Linked DNA regions of Homo sapiens: regions 1, 2 and 3 are each linked to region 4. The links are contacts of gene promoters, found by promoter capture Hi-C in human tissues and cell types (Jung and others, 2019). All regions are on one chromosome and are shown on one strand. Each heading gives the region's core, a stretch centred on a gene start or on the middle of the fragment in contact. The rest is flanking DNA. Distances are from core to core; before and after follow the strand shown. Region 1 overlaps ZNF430 (zinc finger protein 430). Region 2 overlaps ZNF431 (zinc finger protein 431). Region 3 overlaps ZNF85 (zinc finger protein 85). Region 4 holds the start of ZNF43 (zinc finger protein 43).

Region 1 (6,115 bases), core at 1,213-3,712, 810 kb before region 4:
TGAGACAGAGTCTTGCTCTCGCCAGGCTGGAGTGCAGTGGTGTGATCTCGGCTCACTGCAACCTCCGCCTCCCAGGTTGAAGCGATTCTCCTGCCTCAGCCTCCTGAGTAGCTGGGACTACAGGCACATGCCACCATGCCAAGCTAAGTTTTGTATTTTTAGGAGAGACGGGGTTTCACCATGTTGGCCAGGATGGTCTCGATCTCTTGACCTCGTGATCTGCTCACCTCAGCCTCCCAAAGTGCTGGGATTACAGGCGTGAGCCCCCATGCCCGGCAGATGCCTTTTATTTTCATCTCTTCTCTGATTGCTCTGGCCAGGATTTCCAATTTTATGTTGAATAGGATGTTTGAGAGAAGGCATCCTTATCTTGTGCCAGTTTTCAAGGAGGAATGCTTCCAGCTTGTGTCCATTCAGTGTGTTGGCTGTAAGTTTGTCGTTGATGTCTCATTGTTTTGAAGTATATACCTTCAATGCCTAGTTTGTTAAGGGTTTTAAACATGAAAAATGTTAAATTATATTGAAAGTATTTTTAGCATCTATTGAGATAATCTTGGTATTTGTTATTAGTTCTCTTTATGTGATGAATAACATTTATTGATTGTATATGGAACCAACTTGCCTCCCAGAGATGCAGCCTACTTGATTATAGTGGATTAGCTTTTTGATGTTCTTCTGAATTCAGTTTCCCAGTATTTTGTTGATGGTATTTTCATCAATGTTCATCAAGGATATTGGCTTGAAGTTTTCTTTTTTTTTTAATCTCTGCCAGGTTTTGATATCAGAATGATGCTATTCTTATATATAATGAGTTGAAAAGGAGTCCTTTCTTTTCAATATTTTGAAGTATTTTTAGTAGAAGTGGTACTAGCTCTTTTTTGTACATCTGGTAGAGTTCAGCTAGGAATTTGTCTGGTTCTTTGCTTTTTTTTGGCTAGTAGGCTATTTCTTACTAATTCAATTTTGGAGCTTGTTATTGGTCTATTCAGGGATTCAGTTTCTTATTTGTTCAGTCTCTGGAAAATGTGTCTTTGCTCCCAGGTTACTATTCTCAAGCTTGGCCCAAATAAACTCTTATATTCATGTTGCCTCAGCTTTTTCCTTTTAGGTAGTCATATCACGTAGAATGAGCTAGAGCAGCCTCTATGAGGGGATCTCTCCTTTGATTGTACTCCACTTGCTGTAACACCCAAGAATGCAGAGTGTGGTTGATCCTACCTAGAATCTGCACATAAGGTCTGGCCTCTTCCTGGGATTTACAGGACACGGCCAGACTTTAGGTTGAGAATGTACAGAAAACCAACAGGAGGCATTTTCTCCATTGTGAGTTGTCAACATAGACATCTTAAAGCCCCCTTTGACAGTGTGGTTCTTTAAGCTTTTCAGATCTTGTTCAGTGATTTGCCACAGTTATGTGAGAGGCTCCAGATATAAATAGAATCTGATGACAGAATCAGCATTTTAAGAGTGAGATATCAAAGTCATAATGTATCCATAGCCATGACCACAACTATACCTACCTGTAAAATGTGATACTGGAGTAGAGTATTCTTGTCTTTCTCCTTACCCAAAAGCTAGCAAATTGGGACAAGTGATTAGGTTCTGGAGCTCCACCAGGCCATTTTCTATTTAGAATCAGCCTGAATCTCTCCAGCCTGGATTATCATTGGGCCATCAGCCCAGGGTCACTAAGAACCCTCTCACAATCACCTAGACGTCTTTGAGACATTTGAGGATGTCCAGGGCAGAATTGTGTCAGGCTGACAAGAGTGGTTAATTCTGCTTCTGGCTTGGTGTAAGAGAAATGAGTCATTCTGTGTGTGTGTGGTTTTTTTAGGGTTTTTTTTCTTTTTTTAGACGGAGTATTGCTCTATCGCCCAGGCTGGAGTGCAGTGGCGCGATCTCGGCTCACTGCAACCTCCGCCTCCCGGGTTCAAGTGACTCTTCTGCCTCAGCCTCCCAAATAGCTGGGAATACAGGCACTTGCCACCATGCCTGGCTAATTTTTGCATTTTTAATAAAGACAGGGTTTCACCATATTGCACAGGCTGGTCTTGAACTCCTGACCTTGTGATCCGCCCACCTCAGCCTCCCAAAATGCTGGGATCACAGGTGTGAGCCACCATGCCTGGCAATTCTGTGTTTTTTTCTCCCCTTATACAAGAGATAACTTTGGTTGGTACCCAGATGAGAGTTTCTCAAGTTTCCTGATACTTGGATGAAAGCAATAGGAGGTCTGGTGACTCAAACAGATAAAGTAATTGTTTTCATTTTATATGGCCATTCAAAAAACAGATGAAGCAGTCATGATCCTTACTATCCAGGAACATGTCTAGACTAACAACTGGATACATGGGTGAATTAAGCATTATATGGTTGGTACAATGAATAGATGTGTCCAAAAAAAATTGGGGCCACTGTTTTATATTGTTACTTCTGATACCATCAGCTGAGGAGATATTTATGGAGTGAAGATTTGTTATTATTTGTGTTTCCTTTACTTTGCTAAGAATATATATTTATCTTCTAGTATAATTATTCTAAAGAACTTTAATAAATTTGTTTAAATTGCTTATTAGTATATGTTATAAAATTGACAGGGCAGTGGCAAAAATAGATTAAAGTTACATAAGCTCTGGGATTTAAGATTCTCTTATGTAAGCTTAGGAAAAACAGAACTGGAAATACCTTGGTGGCAGAGAGAACATAATTCTACATAGGGTCCTTTCCCTGCCCAAATTCTGTTCAGATTCACGTTTTTTGGAGGCCTTATTTATGTCTGGCCCCGCTCTGGAGCCTTACCTCACAAAACTGATTTATAAAAATCAGAGTTTTGGCTGGGTGTGGTGGCTCACACCTGTAATCCCAACACTTTGGGAGGCCGAGGCAGACAGATCATGAGGTCGAGAGTTTGAGACCAGCCTGACTAACATGGTGAAACCCCGTCTCTACTAAAAATACAAAAATTAGCCGGGCGTGGTGGCACATGCCTGTAATCCCAGCTGCTCAGGAGGCTGGGGCAGGAGAATCGCTTGAACCCGGGAGGCGGAGGTTGCATTGAGCCAAGATTGTGCCACTGCACTCCAGCCTGGTGACAGAGCGAGACTCCATCTAAAAAAAAAAAGACTGGAGTTTTGTCTGGTGAGTCCTGCTGCTTTTCTAGAGCTGGTGCTCACAATTTTCTGAAACCCAAAAACAGATAAATGACAGAAATAAACTATTTATTTTAGGATCTTATTTTTTGAATTTGTATTAAAACCAGTGCTTACAGAAACATTCCATTTAGCACCTTGTTTTCTGTTTCTGCCAATCTAGCAGTTGCTCCACAAGCCACAAACAAGTAAATGTATACACAATAAAAATTTCTCTAAACTACATTAAACTTTTTCTATGTTCTTCTCATCTGCCTGTATTTAACTTTTATTCTATACCTTTAAAACAAAATCAATGACAGAGAAACAGAGGGAGAAATAAAAATGCTGAACCCTTTATCTAAGTCCTGGGAATTATTGAACACTTAGTATCAACTTCCAGGGTGTTATTAGGATTAAATCACAAAATGTGTTATTCCCAGCACAGTGCTCTGTAACATATCCTTGAGCACATAGTACCTGCTTAATAAACATTGCATTTGTATATGTGTACATGTTATTTTCCAAAGGCAGATTTATTCAGACATTGCCGCCTTCTGTTTGTTCTGTAAACTTTAAAGAGCCAGCGAAGAATATAAAAATTTAAGATGGAGATTGGTTTTATTTGTACCAGAAGTATTTGTGTTGTGACAAGAGTGCTAAGTGTAAGGGACTCTGTGCTGTACCTGCTTCTCTAACTAATGCTAATGAGCCCAGGGGGAACAACATCAGCATTGACAGGGAACTTGTTTGAAACACGCATTCATGAACCCTTTTCAAACTTGCAGATCCACATTACGTAGAGTGGGGCCAAAATTACCAAACGAGTTTTAAGCTCATTAAAGTTTGAGAGGCAGTGCTTAGCTAAGTGGTTATCAGCCCCGTCTTGTTTTTTTTGTTTTGTTTTGTTTTCTGTTTTTGAGACAGGATCTCACTCTGTCACCCAGTCTGGAGTGCAATGGCATAATCTCGGCTCAGTGAAACCTCCGCCTCCTGGGTTCAAGCCATTCTTATGCCTCAGCCTCCTGAGTAGCTGGGATTACAGGCACCCGCCACCATTCCTGGCTAATTTTTTGTGTTTTTAGTAGAGATGAGGTTACACCATGTTGGCCAGGCTGATCTTGAACTCCTGACCTCAGGTCATCCATGTGCCTCGGCCTCCTAAAGTGCCAGGATTACAAGTGTGAGCCACCGCGCCCGGCCTCTGCCCAGTCTTCTAATTAGGATTACATGGCAGAAATCTCTGTACTTATGCCCTTTCCATGGATTTCGTTTATTGTTCTGGGTGGAAGCATCCATGTTGTTTTAATGAAGTGCCTCATGTGACTCTAAGGTGAGGCCAGAATCAAGTATGAGGGCTTCAATATACATTCATGAGAGCTAAGTGCCACCTTTGCACTAAAGGGTGGTCTCAGGGCCCGTTCTGTTTGGGTTTGGTAGGGACAGGGGAGTGTGGCTCATATTTCCATTACTGTAGCAGAAATTGCTGGTGTCTGTGGCAGAGGAGGGCACCTAAGGACAGGAAAAGAGAAACATACTTTTATATTCATAGAGCAGCTCGTTGTTCCTGAATCCTTTCTGTTATAAAGGACAGAGAAATGGGTGGACTTTTTCTGCAGGACCTTCCTTCTGTTTGTGTGCGTGATGGTAGCAGACAAAAAGGTGGTGCTGACATTTTTAAAGGAACGTTCTCAAAATGCAGGTATAACTTGTCCAGAGAATGTTATCTAAAAAGGATTTTCAGAGAAAGAAAGAGAAAAAATGGCTTTTTTTCAGCTAAACGTGTCTCAGAAGAAGAGCTGTGTGCACTCTGCTTCATGGAATGCCATGTGTTTAGTACTTGCAAATCTTTACTTCTCGATTTGTGTTTTTCCTTCTTAAGGAGTTTGTTTTAACTACATTAAAAAATTCTTATAATATTCAAGGCTGTCTGCAAAACATTTCTTTACTATATACCAGAGCTTTCTCTACATTCTCTACATCATGGCTTCTTATATGCCACGCAGAATTCCTACCATAAATTTATAATCGGCACTACTAAAAATGTTCCCTTTGTGGCTGTTAAACATGGGGAGATGTAGATACTCAAGATTCCTATTGGGGGAAAGCTGGGGTCCCTAGTAAAGATGGAGAATATGTAATGTTGAGGTTTCATCTGTTTTCTCTATTAACTCTATGCAGAACAGGATTAAGAAAATGCTTATTTAAACAGAATACCATTTATTACCCAGAAAGTTCTGAAAAAAATTATTAGGAGATACCTGCTCTCTAGGGTGCTAAAGAAAGACTACTTAAAATCACTGTTAAAAATAACAGAACATGGGAGATATCTGTATTTTGAACTTTGTATAAAACTGATGTATCTTTATGGTTGCATTCAGATTATAATTTACTGTTTGAGGGGCAATATCTTAGCAGTGATGCCGTGTTCTTCTATGTGCATCAGCACATCATAAAAATTTGTTGGCTGGGTGTGGTGGCTCACACCTGTAATCCCAGCACTTTGGGAGGGCGAGGTGGGCGGATCACCTGAGGTCAGGAGTTCGAGACCAGACTGACCAACATGGAGAAACCCCGTCTTTACTAAAAATACAAAATTAGCTGGGCATGGTGGTACATGCCTGTAATCCCAGCCACTTGGGAGGTTGAGGCAGGAGAATTGCTTGAACCCAGGAGGCGGAGGTTGCAGTGAGCCGAGATGGTGTCATTGCACTCCAGCCTGGGCAACAACAGCAAAACTCCATCTCAAAGAAAAAAAAAAGAAGAAAGAAATTTAGAAGTTCAGACTTTACTCCAGATCTTCTGAAGAAAAAAAGTCTGCACAACAGAATCTCCAGTTTATTGTTCACCTTTAAAGTTGAGAGGTACCTTCGAACTCAACATGTCTTTTTTGTCTGAAAAATATACACAACTCAAACTTTATGATGTAAATATAGCACTCGAAGTGTACAAATTTTTGTTTATGCCCTTAATTTTATGCTTCT
Region 2 (5,448 bases), core at 1,572-4,071, 660 kb before region 4:
TTTTTACAATATTCTTTCTATCTTTTTTATTTGTTTGTGTCCTCTCTGATTTTCTTGGGCAGTGGTTTGTAGTTCTCCTTGAAGAGGTCCTTCACTTCCCTTGTTAGATTTACTCCTTGGTACTTTGTTCTCTTTGTAGCAATTGTGAATGGGAGTTTATTCATGATTTCGCTCTCTGTTTGTTTATTGTTGGTGTATTGAAATGTTTGTGATTTTGGCACATTGATTTTGTATCCTGAGACTTTGCTGAAGCTGCTTATTAGATGAAGAAGCTTTTGGGCTGAGACAATGGGGCTTTCTAGATCTAGGATCATGTCATCTACAAACAGAGACAGTTTGACTTCCTATTTGAATATCACTTATTTATTTCTCTCGCCTGATTTCCCTGGCCAGAACTTCCAATACTATGTTAAATAGGAGTGGTGGGGAGAGGGCATCCTCATCTAGTGCCAGTTTTCAAGGGGAATGCTTCCAGCTTTTGCCCTTTTATATCGGCTATGGGTTTGTCATAGATCTTATTATTTTGATGTATGTTTCATGAATACCTTGTTTATTGAGAGTTTTTAACATGAAGGGATGTTGAATTTGTTCGAAGGCCTTTTCCGCATTTTTGAGATAATCATGTAGTTTTTGTCTTTAGATCTGTTTATGTGATGAATTACATCGATTTTTGTATGCTGAACCAGCCTTCCATCCCGGGAATAAAGCTGACTTGAATTACATCAATTTTTGTATGTTGAACCAGCCTTGCATCCTGGGAATAAAGCTTTTTGACGTGCTGCTGGATTCAGTTTGCCAGCATTTTATTGAGAATTTTTGCATTGATGTTTATCAGGAATATTGACTTGAAGGTTTGTGTGTGTGTGTGTGTGTGTGTGTGTTGTTGTTGTTGTTTTATTTTGTTATATCTCTGCCAGGTCTTGATATCAGGGTGATGCTGGCCTCATAGAATGAGTTAAGGAGAGGCCCCTCCTTTTCCATCATTTGGAATCGTTTCAGAAGAAATGGTACCAGATCCTCTTTGTGCCTCTGGTAGAATTCAGCTATAAATTTATCTGATCCTGGACTTTTTTTGTTGGTAGGCTGTTCCCGCCTCAATTTCAGAACTTGTCATTGGTCTATGCAGCGATTCAACTTCTTCCTGGTTCAGTCTTGAAAGGATGGATGTGTCCAGGAATTTATCCATTTCTTCTAGATGTTCCAGTTTATGTGCACAGAGGTGTTTATAGTATTTTCCGAACATTGTTTTTATTTCTGTGGGGTCAGTGATGATAGCCCCTTTATCATTTTTTATTGTTTATTGCATTTTTCTCTCTTGTTTTATTAGTCTAGCTAGCAGTCTATTTTATTAGTTTTGTCAAAAAAAACCAGCTCCTGGATTCATTGAGTTTTTTTGAAGGGTTTTTTGGGTCTTTATGTCGTTCACTTCCACTCTGAATCTGGTTATTTCTTGTCTTCTGCTAGCTTGAAGTTTTGTTTGCTCTTGGTTTTCTCGTTCTTTTAGTTATGATGTTAGGGTGTCCATTTAAGATCTTTCTAGCTTTTTGATGTGAGTACTTAGTGCTATAAATTTCCCTGTTAACACTGCTTTAGCTGTGTTCCAGAGATTCTGTTACATTGTCTTTTTTTTTTTTTTTTTGAGACGGAGTCTCGCTCTGACCCCAGGCTGGAGTGTAGTGGTGTGATCTCGGCTCACTGCAACCTCCGCCTCCCAGGTTCAAGCAATTCTCCTGCCTCAGCTTCCCATGTAGCTGGGACTACAGGTGCCGGCCACCAAGCAAGGCTAATTTTTATATTTTTAGTAGAGACGGGGTTTCACCATATTGGTCAGGCTGGTCTCGAACTCCCGACCTCAGGTGATCTGTCCGCCTCAGCCTCCCAAAGTGCTGGGATTACATGTGTGAGCCACCACGCCCGGCTACATTGTCTCTTCATTCTCATTGGTTTCAAATAATTTTTTGATTTCTGATTTAGTTGTATTATTTACCCAGAAATAAAGAGGAGCAAGTTGTTCATTCAGGAAATTCATTCAGGAGTAGGTTGTTCAGTTTCGTTGTAGTTGCGGGATTTTGAGTAGCTGGGATTACAGGCGCCCACCACCACACCCAGCTAATTTTTTGTATTTTTAGTAGAGATGGGGTTTCACTATGTTGGTCAGGCTGGTCCCAAACTGTGTCATGACTCTTTATCCAGCTTGCCCTTCTGTGTCTTTCAGTTGAGGTATTCAGCCTATTACATTTAAGGTTAGTATTTTTATGTGTGATTTTGATTCTGTCCAAGTAGTGCTAGCTGCTTATTTTGCAGAGTTGTTGATGTAGTTGTTTTATAGCATAATTGATCTTTGTACTTCAGTGTGTTTTTGCAATGGCTGGTAATGGTTTTTTCTTCTTAACCTTAGTGCTTCTTTCAGGAGCTCTAGCAAGGCAGGCCTGGTGGTGATGTGCTCCCTCAGCATTTGCTTGTCTGAAAAGAATTTTATTTTTCTCCACTTATGCAGACTTACTATTGTTATTTTGTTAATTGTTGTATTTGCTTCTTGTATCTTTGTTCCTCATTTTCTCTTTTTCTGTCTTTGTGTCTTTGTTGTACTTATCTTGGTATGCTTTTACTTCTTTCTCATTTGTTTTGTGTACTTACGCAAACGTATTCTTGGGGTTACCTTGGGGATTATATAAAACCTCTAAAAGATACAACAATGTATTTTAATCTGGTAAAAAATGAACTTCAGGCCAGGTGTCGTGGCTCACACCTATATTCCCAGCACTTTGGGAGGCCGAGGCAGGCAGATCACAAGATCAAGAGATCGAGACCACCCTGGCCAATATGGTGAAACCCTATCTCTACTAAAAATACAAAAATTAGCTGGGCATGGTGGTGCACACCTGTAGTCCCAGCTACTCGGGAGGCTGAGGCAAGAGAATCACTTGAACCCAGGAGGCGGATGTTGCCGTGAGCTAAGATTGCACCATCCAGCCTGGCGACAGAGTGAGACTCCATATCAAAAGAAAAAAAAAAAAAAAAGAACTTCAGTTGCATCCAAAAATTTTTTCTCATTATATCTGCCTTCAAATTTGTCATTGATGTTGCTAATTGTATATTTTATGTTGTATATTTGCTAACAAATGTTTATAATGATTTCTATTCTTGTACCTTTCAAATTTTAGAGAATAATTAATATTTTTTGCACTATTATTATAATGCTAAGAAATTCCATTTTTGTGTATGTGCATTTTTTTTCCCAGAGAATAATGTCTTTTATATGATGTGTTGTTTTGTTGAATCATGTTATTTTCAGTAGCAGCAACGGTTTTCAGCATCTTTTATATGTAAGGCATATGAAAAGCCAATGTACTTTTTCAGTATTTGGTTATTTTTAAAGGTTTTTTTTCTTTTTACTTGGAAGGACAGATATGCTGATGGTATTATTCTCACTTTATAGCTATTTTTTTCAGGACTTTGACTATATCACACAGTTTCCTTCTGGCCTGCAAAGTTTTTGTTGACAGTTCACCGGCTATCTCATAAGACTATGCTTGTAAATGACATGTCGTTTTTATCTTGCAGCTCCATTCTCTTCTTGTCTGTGACTTTCGAAATTGTGCTTATATATGTGTTTGTTATAAATATCTTTATGTGTATCCTAGTGTATTTGTTGAGCTTCTTCATTTTGACATTATTTTTTCTTTCAGAATTTTTTAGTTATATTTTCCTTTACAATTTCTGTTTTTGGATATTTTAAATATTTTTGTTATTCTCATTTTTTCTGATTTTCTATAGTTGTCTGTGTCCTTATTTTACTCATTGAGTATTCAATTTATTTTAAATTTTTAAAATTAATGTATACATCTTTTTTATGGTTTCTTTCTGAAAATCTTATAATTTTGGTGGAGCGATTTTGCCCTATTTTGTATTCATTGTAATCTTTGATTAATATTTGGACATTAAATATAGCTACCTGTCACATTGTTTATAATGTAGCTTTGTCCTGGCATAGTCTGAAAACAATTATCTTGGTTTGAGATCCTGTGAGACTCTCAAACATGTTCTTTGAATGTGTCTTGTCTAAAATTTTGTGTTTATTTTTTAGTTAAAGGAGTTTCTGTTTCATCTTAATCAGCAGTCATTTGCTGTATCTGTTCCCTGTCTGTGGTACTGCAGTCTCTCTGTTGCTGTAACATTTACCTTTGGTCTCAGCAGAAGTAAACTGTAATTCCAAAATATACCACCATTTCTTTCAGCACTTTATGTTATGGGAGACCAGTTTCTGGAAGGGCCCCTAGAAGCAAGTAATATAGATGTATGTGCCAGTGTTTTACTTGTTTATTAAAAAAGAAACGAAAAGTTAGCAATTTACTTTGAAAGGCACTATGTTGTATTGTTGAGTAGGAAGAACTGTGTTGGGTAAATGTAACAGACTTTTCTTTTTCTTCTGTGTCTTTGCATTCCTGTGTACTCACCTGTGTGCTCACCTGGGGAACTTTACACACTTGTTTATAAGTTGTCCTCAAATATATTTTGGTCAGTATATTTTTATTAGATTTATATGTCTATGAAGGATTTAGGGCCTATGGTATTTTATTATGGCATCTTGTTTATGTAGTTTGTATAATGTAGGTTAGATTTGTAAAGTATGTTTATCAGAGTCTAGTAAGTTGAATAATTTGTTGTTTGTATTTCTTTCAGCTATGTGTTCTTATTTTACCAAAGACCTTTGGCCAGAGCAAGACATAAAAGATTCTTTTCAACAAGTAATACTGAGAAGATATGGCAAATGTGAACATGAGAATTTACAGTTAAGAAAAGGCTCCGCAAGTGTAGATGAGTATAAGGTGCACAAAGAAGGTTATAATGAGCTAAACCAGTGTTTGACAACTACCCAGAGCAAAATATTTCCATGTGATAAATATGTGAAAGTCTTTCATAAATTTTTAAATGCAAATAGACATAAGACAAGACATACTGGAAAGAAACCTTTCAAATGTAAAAAATGTGGCAAATCATTTTGCATGCTTTTACACCTAAGTCAACATAAAAGAATTCATATTAGAGAGAATTCTTACCAATGTGAAGAATGTGGCAAAGCTTTTAAATGGTTCTCAACCCTTACTAGACACAAGAGAATTCATACTGGAGAGAAACCCTTCAAATGTGAAGAATGTGGCAAAGCTTTTAAGCAGTCCTCAACCCTTACTACACATAAGATAATTCATACTGGGGAGAAACCATATAGATGTGAAGAATGTGGCAAAGCCTTCAACCGGTCCTCACACCTTACTACACATAAGATAATTCATACTGGAGAGAAGCCCTACAAATGTGAAGAATGTGGCAAAGCTTTTAACCAGTCTTCAACCCTTAGTACACATAAGTTCATTCATGCTGGAGAGAAACCCTACAAATGTGAGGAATGTGACAAAGCTTTTAATCGATTCTCATACCTTACTAAAC
Region 3 (5,430 bases), core at 2,799-5,298, 900 kb before region 4:
AATTGCTTTGTGTTCAGCAAACTCTATAGATTTGATACCAGAAAAAAGATATCACAGAGGCCTGGCCTCGAATGGAACTCTGGGTGTCTGGGAAGGGGAGGCTCTGCTCTCCTGTACACAGGCTGTCACACTGCCCATTGTCTTGTGATTCCAGGTCTCCTCCCAGGGTGACTGTGGACTGAAAACTTAGAGGAAAGGACCTCTGATGACAGACCCCCTTTTCTTGCAGCTGCCACCACAGGAGTCCCACCCACTCACACACACTAGACATTGACGTGTCCACATCCCTCTCAAGACTAGTCATCATCCTCAGGAATTTCACCACAGCATTGTGGATCCTAGTATTTCTTGCCAAAATCCCACAAGAGTGTCTACAAGTCTCCTGGCATATCCCAACCCCCAGACACTGAATCTGCAGCAGCAAACTGTTTTCTCCACCAACCTAGGGTTCTGGACCACCTGTTCATAATCTCATCTGCCTGCACAGGCACAAATAAATCAGAGTACAGCCCCACCGGGACCGCTGTCTGTAGCAAAAACCTACAGTCCTTCCACCTACATTGCACTTTACCCCACCCATGAAGTTTTTTTCTTTTAACTTTTGATTTTGGTTCAGGGGTACACGTGCAGGTTTCTTATATAGGTAAAATTGTGTCACGGGGGTTTGGTGTAGATTATTTTCTCACAGAGGTACTAAGCATAGCACCAAACCAATATTTATTCAAATTCTCCTTGTCATCTCACCCTCCACCCTTACTAGGCCTCAGTGTCTGTTGTTTCTTTCTTTGTGTACGTGTTCTTATTTAGCTCTTACTTTTTTTTTTTTTGAGATAGAGTCTTGCTCTGTCACCCAGGCTGGAGTACAGTGACAGGATTCACTAGACAAAAACTGATCTCTTCTTTTTTTTTTTTTTGTTTGAGACACCGTCTTGCTCTGTCACCCAGGCTGGAGTGCAATGGCATGATCTCAGCTTACTGCAACCTCCGCCTCCCAGGTTCAAGCAATTCTTCTGCCTCAGCCTCCCAAGTAGCTGAGACTACAGGTGCACACCACCACACCTGGCTAATTTTTGTATTTTTAGTAGAGACAGGGCTTCACCATCTTGGCCAGGTTGGTCTCAAACTCCTGACCTTGTGATCCCACCTCAGCCTCCAAAAGTGCTGGGATTACAGGCATGAGCCACTGCACCCAGCCTATTTCTATTTCTTTAACCTTGCTAAGAATACATATGTATCTTATAATAAAATTACCCTAGAAAACCTTAAAATATTTCTTTAAATTTCTTAGTATATGTTATAAAATTGAGGGGGCAGTGGCTTGGCTTAAAAAGATTAAGATTACACAAACTCTGGGATTTAAGTTTCTCTTAGGTAAGCTTAGGAAAAACAGAACTGGAAATACCCTAGTGGCATAGAGAACAGAGTTCTACATAGGGTCCTCTCCCTGCCCCAGTTCTGTTTAGATTTAACCTATTTGGAGGCCTTATTTAGGTCTGGCCCCACCCTGGAGTCTTGCCTCACACAATTTGTTAGAAGAAATCAAAGTTTTGGGCCAGGCGTGGTGGCTTACGCCTATAATCCCAGCACTTTGGGAGGCCAAAGCAGGCAGATCATAAGGTCAGGAGTTCGAGACCAGCCTGACCAACATGGTGAAACCCCATCCCTACTTAAAAAATACAAAAATTACCCTGGTATGTTGGCATGCACCCGTAATCCCAGTTACTTGGGAGGCTGAGGCAGGAGAATCTCTTGAGCCCAGGAGGCAGAGGTTACAGTGAGCTGAGATCATGCCATTGCACTCCAGCCTGGGTGACAGAGCAAGACTCCGTCCCAAAAAAAAAAAAAAAAAAAAAAGAAATCAGAGTTTTTGTCTGGTGAATCCTTCTGCCTTTCTAGAGTTCATGCTCACAATTTCCTTAAACCCCAAAACAGATAAATGGTAAAAATAAAGTATGTATTTTAGGGTCTTAATTTTTAAATTTTGTATTAAAGTGAGTGCTTGCAGAAACATTCTATTTAACAACTTGTTTTCTATTTTTGCAAATCCAGTAGTTGCTCTGCAAGTCACATAAAATTAAATACAAACACAGTAAAAAACTTCTCTAAAATACATTAAACTTTCCTTTCTGTATTCCTCTCATCTGTCTATATTTAGCTTTTCTTCTATGCAATTAAAAAAAATCAATGACAGAGAAACAAGAAGAAATGGAAAGGCAGGGCTCTTTATTTAAATCCTAAGAATTATTAAACACTTAATAACATCTTTCAGGGTGTTATGATGATGAAATCACGTAATGTGTTATGGCCAACACAGTGCTTTTTAACATCCTTTTGAGTACATAGTTCCTGCTTAATATATCTTGCATTAGTACAGGTGTACATGTTGTTGCCAAATGCAGGCTTATTCAAACATTGCTGCCTTCTGTTTCCTCTGTAAACTTTAATGAGCCAGCAAAGAATATGATACTTAAGGATGGAGATGGATTTTATTTATTTATTTAGAGACAGAGTTTCGCTCTTGCTGCCCAGACTGGAGTGCAATGGCACGATCTTGGCCCACCACAACCTCTGCCTCCCAGGTTCAAATGATTCTCCTGCCTCAGCCTCCCTAGTAGCTGGGATTACAGACATGCACCACCACACCCAGCTAATTTTTTTGTATTTTTAGTAGAGACTGCGTTTCTCCATGTTGGTCAGGCTGGTCTCAAACTCCCGACCTCTGGTGATCCACCTGCCTCGGCCTCCCAAAGTGCTGAAATTACATGCATGAGCCACTGCGCCTGGCAGAGATGGGTTGTCTTTATTTGTACCAGAAGTATTTGGTTGTGACAAGAGTGCTGAGTGTAAGGGAACCTGTGCTGTGCCTGCTTTCTCTAATGCCAATAATGAGCCCAAGGGAAGCAACATCAGCACTGACAGGGTTGTTACCTATTCATGGACTCTTTTCAAACCTGCAGAATCATATTACATAGAATGGAGCCAAAATTACCAAGTGATTTATAAGCTCATTAAAACTTGAGAGGCAATGCTTAGCTAAGTGGTTATCAGCCCAGGCTTCTCATTAGGATTCCATGGCCAATTTGCAGAAATCTCTTTACTTGTGCCCTTTCCACAGATTCTGTTTATTGTTCTAGGGGGAAGCAGTCATGTTGTAGTAATGAAGTGCCTCATGTGACTCTTAAGTTGAGGCCAGAATCAAGTATGAGGTGTTCCAGATACATTCATGAGTTAAGTTCCACCTTTGCACTAAAGGGTGGCCGCAGGACTGTTTCTGTTTGGATTTGGTAGGGACAGAGCAATGTGGCCATATTTTCTTTTTCTTTTTCTTTTTCTTTTTTTTTTTTTTTTTTTGAGGTGCAGTTTCACTGGAGTGCAGTGGTGCAATCTCGGCTTACTGCAACCTCTGCCTGCTGGGTTCAAGCGATTCTCTTGCTTCAGCCTCCCGAGTAGTTGGGACTACAGGCACATGCCACCACGCCTGGCTAATTTTTTCTATTTTTAGTAGAGATGCTGTTTCATCGTGTTAGCCAGGATGGTCTCAATCTTCTGACCTCAGGATCTGCCTGCCTCGGCCTCCCAAAGTACTGGGATTATAGGCGTGAGCCACCAAGCCCGGCCATGGCCCATATTTTCATTATTGTAGCAGAAATTGCTGGTGTCTGTGACAGGGGAGGGCACCTGAGAACAGGAAAAGTGAAACATATTTTGATACCCATGGAGCAGCTCATTGTTCCTGAATCTCTTCCATTATAAAGGACATAAATGAGTGAGCTTTTTCTGCAGGTCTTGATCCTTCTGCCTGTGGGTCTGGTGGTAGCAGATGAGCAGTTGATGTTGACATCTTTAAAGACATATTCTCAACATGCAGCTGTAATTTGTTCAAAGAATCTCATCTGGAAAGGATTCCCAGAAAAGGAGGAAAAAGAGGAAAAAAATGGCTTCTTTTTTTAAAGCAAAACATGTCTCAGATCAAGAGCTGTGTCCACTTTGCCTCCTAGAATGCCATGCAAATCATTACTTCTCTATTGTATTACCCCTCCCTAAAGAGTTTAACTACTTGTAAAAATTCTTATGATAGTCAAGGGTGTCTGAAAAGTATTTTTTTTCTATATACCAGAGCCCTTTCTACATTCTTTACATTGTGGCTTTTTATATGCCATGCAGAATTCCTACCACAAATTTATAATCTGCACTATTAAAAATGTTCCCTTTGTGGCTCTTGAACATGAAAAGGTGTGGATACTCAAGATTTCTATTGGGGGAAAGCTGGAGTCATTTGTAAAGATGGAAAACATGTAATGTTGAGGTTCCATCTGTATTCTCCATTACCTCTGTGCAAAACAGGATCAAGGAAATGCTTAGTTAAACAAGATGACATTTATTACCCAGAAAGTTCTAAAAAAAAAATTATCAGGAGATACCTGCTCTCTAGGGTGCTAAAGAAAGATGATTTAAAATTACTATTACAAATTATAGACAGGGAAGATATCTGTATCCTGAACTTTGCATAAAACTGATTTTTTAATGTTAAAATTCAGACTATAGTTTGGAGGAGCAGTATCACAGCCGTGATGCTGTGTCATTTCATGTGCATCAACACATCATAAAAATATGTCCTAGGATGGGCGCGGTGGCTCAGCCTGTAATCCCAGCACTTTGGGAGGCTAAGGCAGGCAGATCACAAGGTCAGGAGATCTAGACCATCCTGGGAATGGTGAAACCCCGTCTCTACTAAAAATACAAAAAAAAAAAAAATTAGCCGGGCATGGTGGTGGGCACCTGTGGCCCCAGCTACTTGGGAGGCTGAGGCGGGAGAATGCCGTGAACCCAGGAGGCGGAGCTTGCAGTGAGCTGAGATTGCACCACTGCACTCCAGCCTGGGCAGCAGAGCGAGACTCCGTCTCAAAAAAAAAAAAAAAAAAAATTTGTCCTAGTGCAGTTCATGTTAATGATTCACTTGGTTAAAGAGCTCTCTGACAGATTTTGTCACTATAGAGATAATTATTTTTTCTTCATTATTATCTTAATGCAGCTAATGTGCATAAACCATCACAGTTAATCCAGCAGCTGCCCTTTTTTCTTAGTTTTTTTTTTTTGCATACATCTGTCTTTGGAAAGTCAAAGCTCTTATCTTTGTTTACAGGCCAGAAAAATTAGGAAAAACACAGGTTCTTCCCCTTACTGGATGTTTGACAAAATATTCTTCTTGGCCAAAAACATTAACCTTACTGGTGAGCTTGTTAGAAATTCAGACAATCAGACTTTATTCCAGATCATCTGAAAAAATAATCTGCATTAACAAGTTCTCCAGTTTATTGTACACATTAAAATTTAAAAAGTACCTTCTAACTCAACCTGTCTTTTCCATCTGAAAAATATACACAACTCATTCTGTAGAATGTGTATATGGCATCCAAAAATACACATTTT
Region 4 (6,176 bases), core at 3,430-5,929:
AAGCCACACAACAACGCCTAGCTAATTTTTGTAATTTTAGTAGAGACAGGGTTTCATCATGTTGGCCAGGCTGACCTCGAACTCCTGACCTTGTGATCCGCCCACCTCGGCCTCCCAAAATTGCTGGGATTACAGGCATGAACCACCACGCCCGGCTCCAGAAAAGCTTTTAAACTGACAAACAACTTCAGCAAAGTTTTAGAATACAAAATAAATGCACAAAAATCAGTAACATCTCTGTACATCAACAATATTGAAGCCAAAAGCCAAATCAAAAACAATCCTATTTGCCACAAAAAGAATCAAATATCCAGAAATATAGCTAACCAGGGAGGTGAAAGATCTCTATGACAAGAATTTTAAAACTGCTTCAAAAAGTAAGAGATGATACAAACAAATGGAAAACCCGTTTATGCTCATGAATAGAAAAGGTATCATTAAAATGGCCAAACTGCCCAAAGAAATGTACAGACTTAATTCTGTTTCTGCCAAACTACCAAAAACATTCTTAACGGGACTAAAAATAACTATTTTAAAATAAATGTGGAACTAAAAGAGAGCCTAAATACCCAAGGCATTCCTAAACAAAAAGAACAAAACTGGAAGCAGTACATTACCTGACTTCAAACTATACCACAGGGCTACAGTAACCAAAGCAGCATGGTACTGTTATAGAAACAAACTCATAGACAAATGCAACAGAATAGAGAGCCCAGAAATAATGCCACACACCTACAACCATCTGATCTTCAACAAAGCTTACAAGAGAAATGTAAAAAAAAATTTCTATTTAATAAATTTGCTAAAATAACTAGCTAATACTACGTAGAAAACTGAAACTGGATGCTTTTCTTACACCATATACAAAAATCAACTCAAAGTGAATTAAAGTCTTAAACTTAAAATGTAAAATTATTTTTAAAAAAACTTTGGAAGGTACCTAGGAAATCATTCTAGACATAAGAACCAGAAGATTTCATGATGGAGATACCAAAAGCAATTGCAACAAAAGGAAAAATTGACAAATGGGACCTAATTAAACTACAGAGCTTCTGCACAGCAAAGAAAACTATGAACAGACTAACTAAACAAGACAACCAGCCAGGCGCAGTGGCTCACTTTAGGAGGCCAAGGCAGGCAGATAACAAGGTCAGGAGTTCGAGACCAGCCGGGCCAATATGGTGAAACCCCATCTCTACCAAAAATACAAAAATTAGCTGGGCGTGGTGGCACACGCCTGTAATCCCAGCTACTCAGGAGGCTGAGGGAGAAGAATTGCTTCAACCTGGGAGATGGAGGGTGCAGTGAGCCGAGATTGTGCCACTGCACTCTAGTGGGGCAACAGAGTGAGACTCCATGTCAATTGAAAAAAAAAAATTATGTGGTAAACAATTAGTCATATGAAAACACTTCTAGGAGGTACCAAGTTTCATCTCATAAAATTTAGCATTAAACTCAGAAATCAAGATGATAGGATATAGAATACAGATAATCACCTCTACAAATTTACCCTGCAAAGAGAGTAACTGATGTTTTTATGAATCTGTGTAACTCACCACTTATATACCACGTTTTCTTATAAAAATGTATTAATTTTGTACAGCCAAATAAAATAGATTTTCCCTATTCTTTTCCTTGGTAGCATTCTAAAAGCTAAGCCTTGGAATTCTGTTGAAAATCACCCAGCCATAAAATAAAAGACACCTGAGAAGATTCCTAAACTCACTCTGGGAAAGAGAAAGGTAAATGATAATTTTTATTTTATTTTATTTATTTATTTTTTAAACAGAGTTTCCCTCTTGTCGCCCAGGCTGAGTACAATGGCGCGACCTCAGCTCACTGCAACCTCGGCCTCCCAGGTTCAAGCGATTCTCCTGCCTCTGCCTCCCGAAGTAGCTGGGATTACAGGCGCCTGCCCCTGCACCCAGCTAATTTTTTTGTATTTTTAGTTGAGACGGGATTTCACCATGTTGGCCAGGCTGGTCTTGAACTCCTGACCTCAGGTGATTCACCCACCTCGGCCTCCCAAAGTGTTGGGATTATAGGCATGAGCCACTACACCCAGGCTGTGACACTGTAGCACACATAGCCATGGTGGTTATCTTGGTTTATCCCTAGACAGTACTGAAACCCAGGATCAGAAAAAAAAAACAAAAACAACAAAATGAAGTGTGGCTGAGGAAAAATCACCCACATTTTTCGAAAGGAAAAACTTGACCTAAAAACATTCTGAAAAAGTCTCTGGCTGGGTGTGGTGGCTCATGCCTATAATCTCAGCACTTTGGGAGGCCGAGGCAGGTGGATCTCCTGAGGTCGGCAGTTTGAGAACAGCGTGACCAACATGGGGAAACCCTGTCTCTACTAAAAATGCAAAATTAGCCAGGCGTGGTAGTGCATCCCTGTAGTCCTAGCTACTCGGGAGGCTGAGTCAGCAGAATCGCTTGAACCCAGGAGGCAGAGGTTGCAGTGAGCTGAGATGGCTCCACTGCAGTCAAGCCTAGGCAACAAGAGCTAAACTCCATCTTAAGGCGGGGCGGGGGAAAAAAAAGAGTCCTGTGCCTAGGGAAAACAAAAAGAAAAAAGAGGCCAGGCATGGTGGCGGAGGCGGGTGGATCATCTGAGGTTAGGAGTTCGAGACCAGCCTGGTCAACATGGAAAAACCTTGTCTCTAACAAAAATACAAAAATTAGCTGGGAATGGTGGTAGGTGCCGGTAGTTCCAGCTACTGGAGTGGCTGAAGCAAAAGAATCACTTGAATCAGGGAGGCAGAGGTTGCAGTGAGCAGAGATCACATCACTGCACTCCAGACTGGGCAGCAAAGCAACACTGTCTCAAAAAAAAAAAAAAAAAAGTAAAGAAAAAAAGAAAAGGAAAAGAGGCACAGAGATTTTTATTTTTTACAAACAGTGTAAGGGGATTATTTTTTGCTTTCTTTTCAATATGGAAAATATTTTCAAATAGAAAACAAAATTTAGGCCGGACTCGGTGGCTCACGCCTGTAATCCTTGCACTTTGGGAGGCCAAGGCGGGTGGATCACAAGGTCAGGAGTTCGAAACCAGCTTGGCCAACAAGGTGAAACCCTGTCTCAACTAAAAATACAAAAAAATTAACCAGGCACGGTGGCAGGTGCCTGTAATTCCAGCTACTCGGGAGGCTGAGGCAGGAGAATCGGTTGAACCCGGGAGGTTGCAATGAGCTGAGATTGCACCATTGCACTCCAGCCTGGGAAACAAAGCGAGAGGAAGGATGGAAGCAAGGATGGAAAGATGGAAGGAAGGAAGGAAGGAAGGAAAGAAAGAAGAAGGAAAGAAGAAAGGAAAATTTATTTAAGTCCATCCAATGATTTTTCAAAAAATAATTAAAATATCTGTATCAAAAATATACAGATATCTAAAATATCTTTATCTAAAACGTATCTCTGTATCTAAAATGTACACTAAAAAAAAAAAAAAAATAGCCCGGCTCGGTGGCTATTTTTAAGTGCTGTAATCCTAGCACTTTGGGAGGCTGAGGCGGGTGGATCATCTGAGCTCAGGAGTTCGAGACCACCTGGCCAATATAGTGAAATCCCGTCTTTACTAAAAATACAAAAAAAATTAGCTGGGTGTGGTGGCAGGCACCTGTAATCCCAGCTACTAAGGAGGCTGAGGCAAGAAAATCGCTTGAATCCGGGAGACGGAGGTTGCAGGGAGCCGAGATAGCACCATTGCACTCCAGCCTGGGCAGCAAAAGCGAAAGTCCATCTCAAAAAAAAAAAAAAAAAGAAAAAAAAGAAAAAATAGTTGATAACGTGAATTGCGGAGAAGAAGGTGGCATTTGGGAATGTCAGAAATAAAGGAAAATCTAGTTTAGTTTTTTTTTTTTTTTTTTTCCAGAGGGAGTTTCACTCTGTGGCCCAGGCTGGAGTGCAATGGCGCGATCTCGGCTCACTGCATCCTCCGCCTCCTGGGTTCAAGCGATTTTCCTGTCTCAGCCTCCCTAGTAGCTGCGATTACAGGCGCGCGCCACCACGCCCAGCTAATTTTTGTATTTTTAGTATAGACGGGGTTCACCATATTAGCCAGGCTGCTCTCGAACTCCTCACCTCGTCATCCACCCACCTCGACCTCCCAAAGTGCTGGGATTAAAGGCGTGACCCACCGCGCCCGGCCGACTCTCCTGTTTCTAATAGACCAAAAGAGGGACTAGAAATGCCACGGACCAAAGCTCTTCCTATTCATGAAACTGCATCACGAGTCAGGATTCTCTCCTGACGACCCTCCTGTGGCCCCTGCACAATTTGGGAGAGACGCCGCGTTGCGGCTGCAGAGCTGCCCACAGAGGGCTGCAGGCCGGGACACAGTCACTGCGCAGAGAAGAGACAGGACGCCCGGGGCTGCCTCCCAGAGCAGCCGCCATCTTATGGCTGAAGGGGATTGAGGCCGAGCTGGGCAAGAACTCCGGCACGCGCAGATTGTGGAGCTGACTGCGGGAAGGCCTGAGTCACGCCACAGCCCCTTCCCCCTCTCGGGATGTCGGACCGGCACTCTCACCATTTCTAGGCTTCCGGGGGGTCCTGGCGTCTTAGCTGTGGATCCCCCAATACCCGCAGGTCACAGAGCCACAGAGGCTGGACCTCTAGCAGCAGAGGACACAGAAGAACGAAGACGAGACGCAGAGCTCCAACTGCAGCCAGAGACAAAGGCCCCGCCACATCCCGGAAGCCGCCCTGTCCTCTCCTGCCCCGTGCCTGATTGGACGGTTTCCAGCCCAGCGTCCCTGATTGGATAACTTCTAAGGTCCTGCCCCCGCAAACCCTGAATGAAAGATGTGATCAGACGCTGGGCTGAAAGAAGAAAGAATGACAGCCTAGGCTGCCGCCTTTTCAGGCAGGGCTTCCTCCCTGAGCAGAGCAGGCCCAACCCAGAGGGTATTTGCCTTTAACCTTGTGTATAAGGTCATCTTCACTTATAAGTAATATACTATATGGATACTAAAAAATGAAAACAATTGTTTTTGAATTTCAGCTTTTATGACCTTCCTGGCTTCTGGCCCTTTGAGTAGGAAGTATTACAAACATTGAATATTTTATTATTTATCCTCTGTGGGGTTTTTCTTATTCTTGAGAGGGAGTCTCTGTTACCCAGGCTGGAGTGCAGGGTCATGACTGCAGCTCACTGCAGCCTCAGCAATCTAGGCTTGAGCAATTTACCTGTCTCAGCCTTCTGAGTAGCTGGGACCACTGGCATGTGGCCCCATGCTCAGCTAATTTGTTATCATATTTTTATTTGTAGAGATGAAGCCTCACTAGATAGCCCAGAATGGTCTCAAACTCTTGGGCTCAATGAATCCTACAAAGTCAGCCTCCCAAAGTACTGGGATTATAGGCATGAACCATCACATTCAGACTGAATTATTTTATCAAAAAATTTTTTTAAAGCATTGAGGTCCATTAATAGAATTCAAGGAAATGTTATGCACATGTTTTAAAAGCAAATTAAAAAGCATATACAAAAAGAGAACATTTTTTAAAAAACTAAATATAGGTAATGTTACCAGAAAAAGTTTAGATCTCCTGACTTTAAGTTGCAGTATGCTAATGGAATATTCTTAGTGGATAGTATTCCATTTTCATAAGAAATTCAAAACAAGATAATTTCCAGGTTTTAGAAACTGATGTAAAACATAAAAATATAGAAAATCTCTAATGTGTTCCCATGATATAGTATTACTTGAAATATAAACTGGGCAAACTCAGCAAAAGACAATTTAATCTCAAATTTCAAAATAGGTACAGAAGTTCTAATGGAATAATAAATGGAATCCAGGATTTTATTCATAAAAAGGCTAAAAAGTGACCATTCTCTGTGATTTTGAAAGTAGGAATTTGTGTAAACAGATGTGTATTTGCATCTACATTTGCCTACACTTACTTTTTTTTTTTTTTTTTTTTTTTTTTTGAGACGGAGTCTTGCTCTGTCGACCAGGCTGGAGTGCAGTGGCACAATCTCGGCTCACTGCAACCTCCGCCTCCCAGGTTCAAGCGATTCTCCTGACTCAGCCTACCAAGTAGCTGGGGATACAGGTGCATGACCCCATGCCCAGCTAATTTTTTTATGATATATTCATTTATTCAGATTACTCGATAATTAAAAATTATATTTTCTATGAATACCAGCTAATTTTTTGTATTTTT

Evidence for each region. Contacts are between HindIII fragments. The study calls those that stand out against the background at their distance.
Region 1: a contact is called between a fragment that was not itself captured here and the fragment with the promoter of ZNF43 in region 4, in 1 of the 25 tissues and cell types used here (spleen).
Region 2: a contact is called between a fragment that was not itself captured here and the fragment with the promoter of ZNF43 in region 4, in 1 of the 25 tissues and cell types used here (pancreas).
Region 3: a contact is called between a fragment that was not itself captured here and the fragment with the promoter of ZNF43 in region 4, in 1 of the 25 tissues and cell types used here (dorsolateral prefrontal cortex).

What each region holds. Positions count from the first base shown.
Region 1 is chr19:21,026,850-21,032,964 of GRCh38, forward strand. The region is part of intron 2 of ZNF430 (zinc finger protein 430); the gene reads left to right. Among named protein-coding and RNA genes, the nearest start is that of ZNF430, 9.2 kb to the left of the region's middle. The HindIII fragment of the contact is 6,523 bases long and covers 1-5,724 here.
Region 2 is chr19:21,177,940-21,183,387 of GRCh38, forward strand. It overlaps ZNF431 (zinc finger protein 431), which reads left to right. Exons shown (of 5, transcript NM_133473.4): 5 at 4,684-5,448. Among named protein-coding and RNA genes, the nearest start is that of ZNF431, 39 kb to the left of the region's middle. The HindIII fragment of the contact is 4,605 bases long and covers 520-5,124 here.
Region 3 is chr19:20,928,289-20,933,718 of GRCh38, forward strand. The region is part of intron 1 of ZNF85 (zinc finger protein 85); the gene reads left to right. Among named protein-coding and RNA genes, the nearest start is that of ZNF85, 7.8 kb to the left of the region's middle. The HindIII fragment of the contact is 8,469 bases long and covers 1-5,430 here.
Region 4 is chr19:21,831,503-21,837,678 of GRCh38, forward strand. It overlaps ZNF43 (zinc finger protein 43), which reads right to left and starts at 4,680. Exons shown (of 4, transcript NM_003423.4): 1 at 4,534-4,680. The coding sequence starts at 4,536. RefSeq lists enhancers at 3,771-4,744, 4,274-4,363, 4,404-4,453, 4,474-4,633, 4,745-5,717. The HindIII fragment of the contact is 27,139 bases long and covers 463-6,176 here.